Regions from separate parts of the Homo sapiens genome. Here all the other regions are linked to region 2. The links are contacts of gene promoters, found by promoter capture Hi-C in blood cells and fetal thymus (Javierre and others, 2016). All regions are on one chromosome and are shown on one strand. Each heading gives the region's core, a stretch centred on a gene start or on the middle of the fragment in contact. The rest is flanking DNA. Distances are from core to core; before and after follow the strand shown.

Region 1 (4,032 bases), core at 284-2,783, 680 kb before region 2:
ATAAAGAAAGAAAGAAAACCTTACATTTAGGCCAACTGATTTTTTACAAGAATGTCAAGACATTTTAATGGGGATATTTGAAAAGACAACCTAATATAAAAATGAGAAAATGATTTGAATAGATATTTCTCCAAAGAAGATACACGAATAGCCAATAGACATATGAAGAGATGCTCAACATTATTCACGAAAGAGATGCAAATTAAATCCATGATGAGATACTACTAGGCCATAATTTGTCTTTGCAACAACTACTGCAAAGGTAACTACATATCCATATGCAAAAGAATCACTTGCACCCCTACCTCACACTATATAGAAAAATTAACTCAAACTGGAGCATAGACTTAAATTTAAGAGCTAAAACTATAAAACTCTTAGAAGAAAACAAGAGTAAATCTTTATGACCTTGGGCTAGGTAAAGTTTTCTTAGATATGACACCAAAAGTACAAAAAGAAAAAGAAAAAAGAAATATGCTGGACTTCATCAAAATTAAAAACATTTTTGTTGCAAATGATGCAACCAAGAAAGTGAAAAGACAATCCACAGCATGGAAGAAAATATTTTTAGACTGCTAATAGCTGTGGAGTTCTTTTATGAAAAATTTTTTTGCTTTCTTTTTTTTTTTTTTCTTTTGAGATGGAGTCTCACCCTGTCACCCAGCCTGGAGTGCAGTGGCGTGATCTCGGCTTACTGCAACCTCTGCATCCCAGGTTCAAGCAATTCTCTGGCGTCAGTCTCCCAAGTAGCTGGGATTATAGGCACGTGCCACCACGCCCAGCTAATTTTTTGTATCTTTAGTAGAGACAAGTTTCACCATGTTGGCCAGGCTGGTTTCAAACTCCTGACCTTGTGATCTGCCCACCTTGGCCTCCCAAAGTGTTGGGATTGCAGGCGTGAGCCATCATGCCCAGCCAATGAAAATGTTTTTAAATTAAGCTGTGGCAATGGTTGCATAACTTTTGAGTATAATAATCACTGAATCGTGCATTGTAAATGTGTGAATTTTATGCTATATGAATTATATCTCAGTAAGTCTATTTTTAAACAATCAATGTAACTCCTTTATTAAACTAAAAAAGAAAACCATTAATATCTTTCAATAGATTCAGAAAAGTGTTTGACAGGATCAATTCAGCAAATTAGAAATAGAAGAGAACTTCCTCAAACTGATAAAGGGCACCATCAAACAACCTACAAATAACAGCATGCTTGATGGTGAAAGACTAAATGCTTTCCCATAAAGATCAGGTCAAGACAGGAATGTCCACTCCCCTCACTTCTATTCAGCACTGTACAAAATATTCTCTCTTTTTTTTGTACAAAATAATCTAGCCACTGCAATGAGGTTTTTATTTTTTATTTTTTATTTTTTTTGAGACAGAATCTTGGTCTGTCACCCAGGCTGGAGTGCAGTGGTGCAATCTTGGCCCACTGCAGCCTCCACCTCCCGGGTTCAAGAGATTCTCCTGCCTCAGCCTCCCGAGTAGCTGGGACTTCAGGTACGCACCACTGTGCCTGGCTAATTTTTGTATTTTTAGTAGAGACAGAGTTTTATCCCGTCAGGCTGGTCTCGAACTCCTGACCTCAGGTGACCCGCCTGCCTCGGCCTTTCAAAGTGCTGGGATTACAGGCATGAGCCACTGCATCCAGCCTCAATGAGGTTTTTTAAAAAAGACATTCAATTTAGAAAGGAAGAAGTAAATTCTACTTATTCCCAGATGACTATCTATGTAGAAAATTTAATAAAATCTATTTTTAAAAAGTAGGATATAAGATCAACACAAAAATTAAGTGTATTTCCATATGCTAGCAACAACGAATCAGAAATTAAAAGTAAGTTAATAATACAATTTATAATGGCATCAAAAATGTGAAATACTTATGGCTAAATCTGATAACAGATGTTGTTATGAGTTGAATTGTGTTCTCCAGATATATAGGTTGAAGTCTTAACCTCTGCTACCTCAGGTTATAACCTTATTTGGAGACAGGGTCATTTCAGATGGAATTAGTTAAAAGGAGGTTATACTGGAGTAGGTGGGCTCTCAATACAATATGACTGGTGTCCTTATAAGAAAACAATGTGAAGACACAGGGGGAAAATGCCATGTGATGATGGAGGTAGAAATTGAAGTTATGCAGCTGCAAATCAAGTAATGCCAAACATTAACGGTGACACCAGAAGCGAAGAGAAAGAAACAGATTCTGGAACACGTTCCCCTCTACAGCCTTTGAAAGAGGATGGCTCTGCTGACACCTTTATTTCAGATTTCTAGTCTCTAGAACTAAGAGAAAATAAATTTGTTGTTTTAAGCCAGATCAACAGAAATTTTTGTTCATAGTAATTTGTTATAGCAGCCCTAGGAAGCTAAGACAAATGTGAACGTGTGTACGCTTTAAACTATAAAATGTTGCTCAGAGAAGTTAAAGAAGACCTAAGTAAAAGAGATATATACTTTAATAACATGCAAAATTTCAAGAACATATAGAAACTCTTTATTTCCAGCTTTGTCTTCAACGCTTTCAGTTGCTGATGTACAAATTTTTTTTTTTTTTTTTTTTTTTGAGATGGAGTCTCGCTCTGTCACCCAGGCTGGAGTGCAGTGGTGTGATCTCTGCTCACTGCAAGCTCCGCCTCCCAGGTTCAGGCCATTCTCCTGCCTCAGCCTCCCGAATAGCTGGGACTACAGGCGCCTGTAACCATGTCCGGCTAATTTTTTGTATTTTTAGTAGAGACGGGGTTTCACCATGTTAGCCAGGATGGTCTTTATCTCCTGACCTCGTGATCCGCTGCCTCGGCCTCCCAAAGTGCTGGGATTACAGGCGTGAGCCACCGCGCCCGGTCCGCTGATGTACAAAATTATATCTTTATACATTGCATGTCCCCAAACAAAACTAATAATTCTTTTTTTTTTTTTTTTTTTTTTTGAGACAAAGTCTTGCTCTGTCACCCAGGCTGGAGTGCAGTGATGCGATCTCGGCTCACTGCAACCTCCGCCTCCCTGGTTCAAGCGATTCACCTGCCTCAGCCTCCTGAGTAGCTGGGATTACAGGCACATGCCACCACGCCCAGCTAATTTTTGTGTTTTTAGTAGAGACAGGGTTTCACCATGTTGGTCAGGCTGATCTCAAACTCTTGACCTCATGATCCACCCGCCTCAGCCTCCCAAAGTGCTGAGATTATAGGCATGAGCCACCACACCTGGCCTAATAATTCTTTTAAATACATTTGTCCCTTAAATTATGTGGAAAACAAGATGTAGAGTTACAAACTAAAGTTACAATAACACTAGCTTTTAGACTACTATTTTTGAAAATATATTCTTTCTTTAAATCGTTTAGAAAACAAAACGTGGACGCCAGGTGCAGTGGTTCACGCCAGTAATCCCAGCACTTTGGGAGGCCGAGGCAGGCAGATCACCTGACGTTAGGAGTTCAAGACCAGCCTGGACAACATGGTGAAACCCCATCTCTACTAAAAATACAAAAATTAGCCGGGCATGGTCACCAGCACCTGTAATCCCAGCTACTCGGGAGGCTGAGGCAGGATAATTGCTTGAACCAGGGAGGTGGATGTTGCAGTGAGCCAAGATTGCACCATTGCACTCCAGCCTGGGTGACAGAGGGAAAATCTGTCTCAAAAACAAACGAACAAACAAACAAAAAACAAAAAGTGGAGATACAGACTGTTGTTACAATAATACTAGATTTTATAATTACCCATGTATTTATCTTTATTGAGATCTCTAATTCCTCAAATGGCTTGGAGTTACTGACTAGTGTGTTTTCATTTCACCCTGCAGGATTCCTTTGAGCATTTCTTCCAGGGCAGGTCTAGTGACAACAAACTCCCTCAGCTTTTTTTTTTTTTTTTTGAGACACAGTCTTGCTCTGTCGCCCAGGCTGGAGTGCAGTGGCGTGATCTGGGCTCACTGCAACCTCCGTCTCTCGGGTTCAAGCGATTCTCCTGCCTCAGCCTCCTGAGTAGCTGGGATTACAGGCGCCCGCCACCACACCAATCTAATTTT
Region 2 (4,214 bases), core at 515-3,014:
TGAGGAGGAGTTTCACTCGTTGCCCAAGCTGGAGTGCAATGGCGCAATCTCAGCTCACTGCAACCTCCGCTTCCCGGGCTCAAGTGATTCTCCTGCCTCAGCCTCCCAAGTTGCTGGGATTGCAGGCATGTGCCACCATGCCTGGCTAATTTTGTATTTTTAGTAGAGACAGGGTTTCTCCATGTTGGTCAGGCTGGTCTTGAACTCCCGACCTCAGGTGATCTGCCCGCCTCGGCTTCCCAAAGTGCTAGGATTACAGGCGTGAGCCACTGCGCCTGGCCTTACTTTTGTTTTATACTCTGTTGTACCCTCAGCGTAGCACACATTAGGCACTTAGGAAGAATCTGAGAAACGAATCAGTTAATCCCTACTTTACCAATAATGAATAAAGACTGAGAAACTCGGGCCGGGCGCAGTAGCTCACACCTATAATCCTAGCACTTTGGGAAGCCAAGGTGGGCGGATCACTTGAGGTCAGGATTCAAAACCAGCCTGGCCAACATGGTGAAACCCTGTCTCGACTAAAAATACAAAAAAAAAAATATGAGCTGGGCGTGGTGGCGGGTGCCTGTAATTCCAGCTACTTGGGTGGCTGAGGTGGGAGAATCGCTTGAACCTAGGAGGCGGAGGTTGCAGTAAGCCGAGATCGCACGACTGAACTCCAGTGTGGGCGACAGAGTGAGAGTCTCAAAAAAAAAAAAAAAAAAAAAAAAAATAGACTGAAAAATTACGCAACCTGTCCAAGAACACTACAGCGACAATTAGCAAAGCTGGGATTTTAACCCAGGTCTATCTCACAGCCACAGCATAGTATTTTCTTTTTTTTCTTGCTGTGACTGCACGTTACGCCATACATGGCATTCAGGACGCAGAGGAATTAGTATTTACTGTTTTTAACATTCCTTACATGGGAATCACGTAAAGAATCAGGTAAACAGGATTCAATTTGTGACTCAACCATTAATACTTTGTGACACTGGCTAATTTATTTCACTTCTGGATGTCGGTTATGTTTTTTTTGAGACAGGATCTCGCTCTGCTGTCACCCGGCCTGGAGTTCAGTGGAGGGATCTCTGCACCGTCAACTTCCTGGGCTATCAAGCGATCCTCCCACCTCAGCCTCCCTGGTAGTTGGGACCACAGGTGCCCGCCATCATGTCCGGCTGATTTGTAAAATTTCTTTTGTAGAGATGGTGACCTTGCTCTGTGGCCCAGGCTGGTCTCGAACTCCTGGACTCAAGCGATCCTCCTGCCTGGGCCTCCTAAAGATTCAGCTGCTTTTGGATCAACCGATCGCCTTAAGACCTTTTAACTCGAACACCTGTCACATCCTAGGATCCGCGAAGGACTGAAACAGAGTTTCTGAAGCGTCCCTCGGCGCAGTAGCTCCGCTCCACCTCCCATTCGCGCTACCACCGCGGCCGCAGCCCCAGGAGTCGCCGCGGAGCCAGCGTCGCCCTCCAGCTGTTGCGCGTCGGAAGCCGGAAGCAGGGACTGAGCGACAGACTAGGAAACGCCGGTTTCTCCGGGGCTCCCCAGCGCCCCACCTTTACCCCGGAGGCCGCCCTCTTCCATTTGCTCTTGGGCGTCAGGGCGGTACCCCACTCCGCTCGACCCTTTGGATCCACTCGCACTTCCTCCCGTCCAGAGTCAAAGGCCCCGGAAGTGACGTTTACGCGCCGCGCGTAACGTGCGTTCGCTGGCGGTGCCGGGGGCGGGGCGAGCAGGAGGGTGGGTGTGAGGCGGGAGCTGGCCGCGGAGCCCAGACCTACCCGGGCGAAGCGGGCGAGCGGTGGTTTGGACGCCGGCGGAGACGCGGGCGAGGTACGGAGCGGACGGACTGGGGCTGAGAGCTGCTCGGCTCTCAGCTACAGGAGCGGGGCGGCGGGGCGTCTCGGGCTGGGGGTGGCAGGGCGGTCGGTCCGTGCCATCCGCGCGGCTGGGGCAGTTGCGCGTCGGTGCCTCCCGCTGTCCTTCGTCCCACATTCCGTCTCCGTCAGCGCCGCCTTCCCCGTTCCAGGCCGCCCTCGGCTCCCTTAATCCTCAGAGTGCGGCCTCTCCGTCCCAGACGCTAGTTGCCGGGATCTCCAGCGCCAGCCGAGCCCCGACGGCCTGACGCGGAGCATTTCCTGGCCGCCTCCCTCTCCGGCGGCTCCCCTCGCCCCGGCTCCCACCTTCCGTCCAGGCCGCTGGCTCCGAAGCAGCGTCTGTGGTCGCACGGGGCCCCTCCCACAACCTCCCCGGAAAGCGCTGGTATGGGACGCTCGGACCCAGACCACAGCCCCCGGCCGCGGCAGGGGCGCGGGGACTTGATCCCACGTCACCCTAGGGGGCAGAAGTGTCCCGGAGTTGGGAGGGGATTTGAAGCCTGTGGTCCTGACTTCCACCCCGTGGCTGAGGGCGAGGCTGCGGGGCCGGGGTTAGGAGCAGAAGTCCCTGCTTCCGAACCGTCTGGGAGGAGAGCCGAGGGATGCCCATCACGGCAGTTTAGGGAGAGAGAGGGAGGGACTCTGCCGCTTTGGAGGCTAGGTCATAGGCAGCTGGCGGTGTCTCAGCGCGGGTGACCAATCCTTGCGGTTGGGAAATGTGTCGTGGGCGCCCGTGGGCTCGTTTTGCCTTTGAGATTAGGTAGGAAATTTTCCCAGGACGAGTTTACCGGAGCACCTTGGGAGTTGGTTTTTGGCCTGGAGAGCTGCTTTCCCCCCTCTAAACCTAGAACTGCTTTGTTTTTATTTATTATTTTTTTCGACATGGGATCTCACAGTGTTGCCCAGGCAGGTGTGAAACTCCTGGCCTTAAGTGATCCTCCCGCCTCGGCCTCCCAGAGTGTTGGGATTATAGGCGTGAGCCATTGCGCGGCTTTAACTGCTGTTAAAGAGTGTGTTCCGGCCGGGTGCGGTGGCTCACGTCTGTAATCCCAGCATTTGGAAGGCCAAGGCAGGCGGATCATGACGTCAGGAGCTTGAGACCATCCTCCCTAACACGGTGAAACCCCGTCTCTACTACAAATAAAAAAAAAAAAGAAAAAGAAAATTTGCCGGGCATCGTGGCGGGCACCTGTAGTCCCAGCTACTCTGGAGGCTGAGGCAGGAGAATGGCATGAACCCGGGAGGCGGAGGTTGCAGTGAGCCGAAATCGTGCCACTGCACTCCAGCCTGGGCGACAGAGCTAGACTCTATCTCAAAAAAAAAACTAAGAGTCTGTTCCTTAAAATTGTTGTACCAAGAAACTTGCCAGAGATGCAAGAAAATGTGATTATATTGTTAATATTTAATGATAAATAACATTTTGCTTTTAAGAGTCACTGATTCATATCCGCAGGATTAAGAAATGTTCAGGATTTGAATTTTTAATGACCTTCCAAGCAGTCATGTTTCTGCTCTCTAGAAGTTAGCCAGTTGAGGAGAAGGGACAGTCAAGATACTTTCAAAACAGTGTGGTAAGGAATGTGAGCTAAGATGGAGCACCGAGGAAGGAGCCGGGCATTTAGGCCATGCTGTTGGGTGTGGAGCCTGGAAGGGATCAGGGAATACTTTCTGCATGTGTCTTGAAGAATGACTAACATTCAGACTAACAGGGTGGAGTGAGGGAGAGGGGGGAATCAAAGGAGAGGAGGCCAGTAACTACAAGGAGGTGCCTATTAATTTATTTATTGAGAGAGAGGGTCTCACTTTGTCACCCAGGCTGGAGTACAGTGACACGATCACGAGTCACTGAAGTCTCAACTGCCTGTGCTGAAGTGATCCTCCCACCTCAGCCTCCCGAGTAGCTAAGACTGCAGATGCGTGCCACCACACCCAGCTGATTTTTAAATATTTTGTAAAGATGTTGTCTTGCTGTGTTGCCCTGGCTGATCTCAAACTCCTGCACTCAAGCAATCTTCCTGCCTCAAGCGTCCCAAGTGCTGAAATTACAGGCATCAGCTACCGAGCCTGGAGGGTCGTTACTAAAGTGAAAAAGTGCAGGACAGAGATGTAGGAGCTCAGGCTTCCTCTGATGGTGACAGAACCAGGGGAAGTTTTTTAGCTGGGTCCTTGTGTGGTTAAAATGGGTCTCTCTGGCCAGGCGCGGTGGCTCACGCCTGTAATCCCAGCACTTTGGGAGGCCGAGGCGGGCGGATCACGAGGTCAGGAGTTTGAGACCAGCCTGAGCAACATGGTGAAACCCCATCTCTACTAAAAACACTAAAATTAGCTTGGTGTGATGGCGCCTGC
Region 3 (4,211 bases), core at 901-3,400, 710 kb before region 2:
CCGGGCACGGTGGCTCACACCTGTAATCCCACCACTTTGGGATGCCGAGGCGGGCGGATCACGAGGTCAGGAGATTGAGACCATCCTGGCTAACACGGTGAAACCCCGTCTCTACTAAAAAAATACAAAAAATTAGCCGGGCATGGTGGCCGGCACCTGTAGTCCCAGCCACTCGGGAGGCTGAGGCAGGAGAATGGAATGAATCCAGGAGGTGAAGGTTGCAGTGAGCCAAAACTGTGCCACTGCACTCCAGCCTGGGAAACAGAGAGAGACTCCATCTCAAAAAAAAAAAAAAAAAAGAAAGAAACATCGATATCATGTACCCTGAGATATCAGGACACGAGAAGGGGAGATCACCTCTGTGGTACTCTTCCTCAAAAGCCACAGGTTCTGTGTAATCATAAGAAAACGTCAGACAATCACAAATCAAGGGACGTTCTACAAAATACTTGACCAGCCCTTCACAAGTGTCAAGGAAGACAAAGGAAGAGTAAGGACACAGAACAAATGACATTATGGGAACATGTTAACTAAATATAAAATGGTATCCTGAGCCAGGTGCGGTGGCTCACACCTGTAATCCCAGCACTTTGGGAGGCCGAGGCAGGTGGATCACAAGGTCAGGAGATTGAGGCCATCCTGGCTAACACGGTGAAACCCCGTCTCTACTAAAAATACAAAAAATTAGCCAGGTGTGGTGGCGGGCGCCTGTAGTCCCAGCTACTATCGGGAGGCTGAGGCAGGAGAATGGCGTGAACCTGGGAGGCGGAGCTTGCAGTGAGCCGAGATCATGACACTGCACTCCAGCCTGGGCGACAGAGCGAGAGAGACTCCCTCTCAAAAAAAAAAAAAAAAAAAAAAAAAAAAAAATGGTATCCTGAACTGAATCCTGGAACTCAGAAAACAGCAGTGGGAAAACAAGGTATTCAAATAAAATTTTAGCTTAGTTTAATAGTATGTACCAATGTTAATTTCTTGGTTTTTCATGGTATAGACCATGGTTATGTAAGATGTTAACATCGGAGAAAACTATGGGAAGGGTACACAAGAACTCCCAGCACCTGTCTCTACAACTTTTATGTAAGAGAAAAATGGCTGGGCGCAGTGGCTCACACCTATAATTCGAGCACTTTGGGAGCCCAAGATCGGCGGATCACCTGAGGTTGGGAGTTCGATACCAGCCTGACTAACATGGAGAAACCCCATCTCTACTAAAAATACAAAATTAGTCAGGCGAGGTGGCGCATGCCTGTAATCCCAGCTACTCAGGAGTCTGAGGCGGGACAATCACTTAAACCTGGTAGGCGGAGGTTGTGGTGAGCCAAGATCGTGCTATTGCACTCCAGCCTGGGCAACAAGAGGGAGACTCCATCTCCAAAAAAAAAAAAGAAAAATGATTTCAAAATAAAAGGTGTTTTTTTAAAATTGATTTGCAATGGTCTGATATTTTCTCATGATTACACAGAATTTGTGGCTTTTGAAGAAGAATACAGATATAATTTGAGAGGAATTATAATTACATATTTTGGGAAGAATCTGAAACTTGAAAAATAAACAATAGCCTTAAGTGTCTAAGTCCCCAGCACTTTGGAAAGATGCGGTGAGAAGATCCCTTGAGCCCAGGGATTCAAGACCACCCTGGACAACAACAAAAAAATTAGCCAGGCATGGCAGTGCATACCCATATTCCCAGCTACTTGGGAAGCTGAGCTCGGAGCACCACTTGAGCCTGGGAGGTTGAGGCTGCAGTGAGCAGTGATTCCCTTTCAAGGAGAAGTGAGAGCAATCTTTTAGACTATTCCTTCTAACTTTGTAGCTGGCTAAACACTACACTTGACCAAACTCCTCCCACTTTTATAAACAGAATAAAAATCAGGTTACAGTAAAAGTATTCAAATCAGATAAAAGGCGATCTTGATTTCAGCAGCCAGTCGTTGGGAGAATAAACCCCCCTCCCTCAATGGTACTTTAGGTAGGCCTGGCAGAAGCCCAGCCTTACTTCATAGGTGATAGTGTTCAAGTTCTGTTGCCCAGAGCTGTGTTTATTCTTTCCACTTTCTTTACGCTGCTCTTTCAGATCAGTTAGTAAATGAAACACCCAGGAGAAGATACACAAAAGAAGTTTATGAATAAATTTGAGAAATATATCTATCTAAGGTCAGTGGTTTTGAAGGATAAACAGGAAACTGTAGTACTTCCTTTCACCCGCCCATTACGCAGCTTCCAATTCTTGGATTTGAGCAAATATGAGTCCCAGAGGCATATGACATTAAAAAAATGCTCTTTTATATAAGCCAAATAATCCAAATTCATTAATTTACCTAAAATATTTCAAATATGGCCAGGTGCGGTGCCTCATGCCTGTAATCCCAGCACTTTGGGAGGCTGAGGCGGGCGGATCATGAGGTCAGGAGATCAAGACCATCCTGGCTAAAATGGTGAAACCTCATCTCTACTAAAAATACAAAAAATTAGCCAGGCGTGGTGGCAGGCACCTGTAGTCCCAGCTACTCTTGAGGCTGAGGCAAGAGAATGGCGTGAACCTGGGAGGCAGAGGTTGCAGGTTGCTGAGATCACGCCACTGCACTCCAGCCTGGGCAACAGAGCAAGACTCCATCTCAAAAAAAAAAAAACAATTTCAAACATTTCCTATGAATATACACATCACTAATCTCCTCTGATCTCAAAAATATACTATTTGAAAGCAAATTTTCTTAAAACAAATATTTTGTTAAAAAAGAATTCTGCTTCTCTAGTATAAAAATCTAACATAGGCCAGGTGCAGTGGTGCACACCTTTAATCCCAGCACTTTGGGAGGCCAAGGCAGGCGGATCACGAGGTCAGGAGATCGACACCATCCTGGCTAACACGGTGAAACCCCATCTCTACTAAAAATACAAAAAAAATTAGCCGGGCGTGGTGGCGGGCGCCTGTAGTCCCAGCTACCCGGGAGGCTGAGGCAGAAGAATGGCATGAGCCCGGGAGGTGGAGCTTGCAGTGAGGCGAGATCATGCCACTGCACTCCAGCCTGGGCGACAGAGTGAGACTCAATCTCAAAAAAAAAAAAAAAAAAAAAATCTAACATAATAATTTCTTTCTGGAAAAGAAAAATTTTGAAGCAAGTGATAAGACAGAGTTTACCAAAAAAAGGGGAGGAAAAAATGCTATGGATTTTTAGAAGCAAACTTTCCCCACAAGGATAAAACATGCATGCATTAGAGTGCTGGAGGCAGGGGGGAATCTCAGTCTCATTCCTGTTTTAGAGATTCTACCACAGAAGTGAAGAAAATGCAGGCTCACACACCATCACTAAATACAATGCGACCCCTCTCATCTGCTGTTCCTTTCAGAAATAGTGGCATGAGATCAATGAATGCAATGTTTCCCCAATGGATAAAACACCCAAACGCCTAGCAAAGTCCAAACTGGACAAGGAGGCTCCTAAAAGCCAAAGGCTTGGCCAAAAACCATTCAACCATTTCCTTCCTGTTCTAAGCTGCAACCACTTGAGACTGAGCCTTTAGAGAGGAAAGAATATGGCCAACTCTGTTTATTCTACTACCTTCTTTTCTTTTGGGGGGATGTGGAAGGGAGGCGGTTTCTTTCTTTTTGCTGTCTTCCACTCTGGGAGCTTTTTTTAGGGGACAGGGTCCCAAAGGCTGTCTCCCAGGCTAGAGTACAGTGGTCATCACTGTAACCTCAAACTCCTGGGCTGAAGCAAACCTCCCCTCTGCCTTCCAAGTAGCTAGGACCATAGTAGGTGTTTGCTACCATGCCCAGCTAATTTATTTTTTTAAGAGCTGGGGGTCTTGCTAGGTTTCCCAGGCTGATCTCTAACTCATAGCCTCAAGCAGTCTTCTCTCCTTGGCCTTCCAAAGTGCTGAGATTACAGGCATGAGCCACAGCACTTAAGCTACTACCTTCTAGACCTCCTCTGAGTCTTCCTGAGTTTAGACTCTAGCACATGGAAAATTCACAGTCAAGGTATAAATGGTTCTTTCTACACCTGGAGTGAGCCTATCAGATGGTTTTGCTAGTGCCAAATAGGAGGCAAAAATGCTGGAATATCTTCCGTCTTACCAATCTTTTTCCTTCTTTTCCTTTCCCTGGGAACCCCACCCTAGGCCCCAAAAATTATAAATTTGTTAATTTCTACTATTCAGAAAGGTGAGTCAACTAAACTCACTTTCAAAATAACAATGTTAATACC

What was found. The method cuts DNA at HindIII sites, captures the fragments that hold promoters and counts their contacts. A CHiCAGO score of 5 or more calls a contact.
Region 1: a contact is called between a fragment that was not itself captured here and the fragment with the promoter of RABGEF1 in region 2, in 1 of 17 cell types (neutrophils). The highest score is 5.7, in neutrophils.
Region 3: a contact is called between a fragment that was not itself captured here and the fragment with the promoter of RABGEF1 in region 2, in 1 of 17 cell types (M0 macrophages). The highest score is 5.5, in M0 macrophages.

What each region holds. Positions count from the first base shown.
Region 1 is chr7:66,063,202-66,067,233 of GRCh38, forward strand. No RefSeq gene overlaps it. Among named protein-coding and RNA genes, the nearest start is that of ASL, 11 kb to the right of the region's middle. The HindIII fragment of the contact is 7,771 bases long and covers 1-4,032 here.
Region 2 is chr7:66,738,969-66,743,182 of GRCh38, forward strand. RABGEF1 (RAB guanine nucleotide exchange factor 1) reads left to right here and starts at 1,765. Exons shown (of 9, transcript NM_014504.3): 1 at 1,765-1,824. RefSeq lists enhancers at 1,379-1,428, 1,442-2,108 and silencers at 1,559-1,828, 1,849-1,988. The HindIII fragment of the contact is 9,271 bases long and covers 1-4,214 here.
Region 3 is chr7:66,026,560-66,030,770 of GRCh38, forward strand. The region is part of intron 3 of LOC105375336 (a long non-coding RNA gene); the gene reads right to left. It also overlaps the pseudogene LOC100419772. Among named protein-coding and RNA genes, the nearest start is that of GUSB, 46 kb to the left of the region's middle. The HindIII fragment of the contact is 4,637 bases long and covers 1-4,211 here.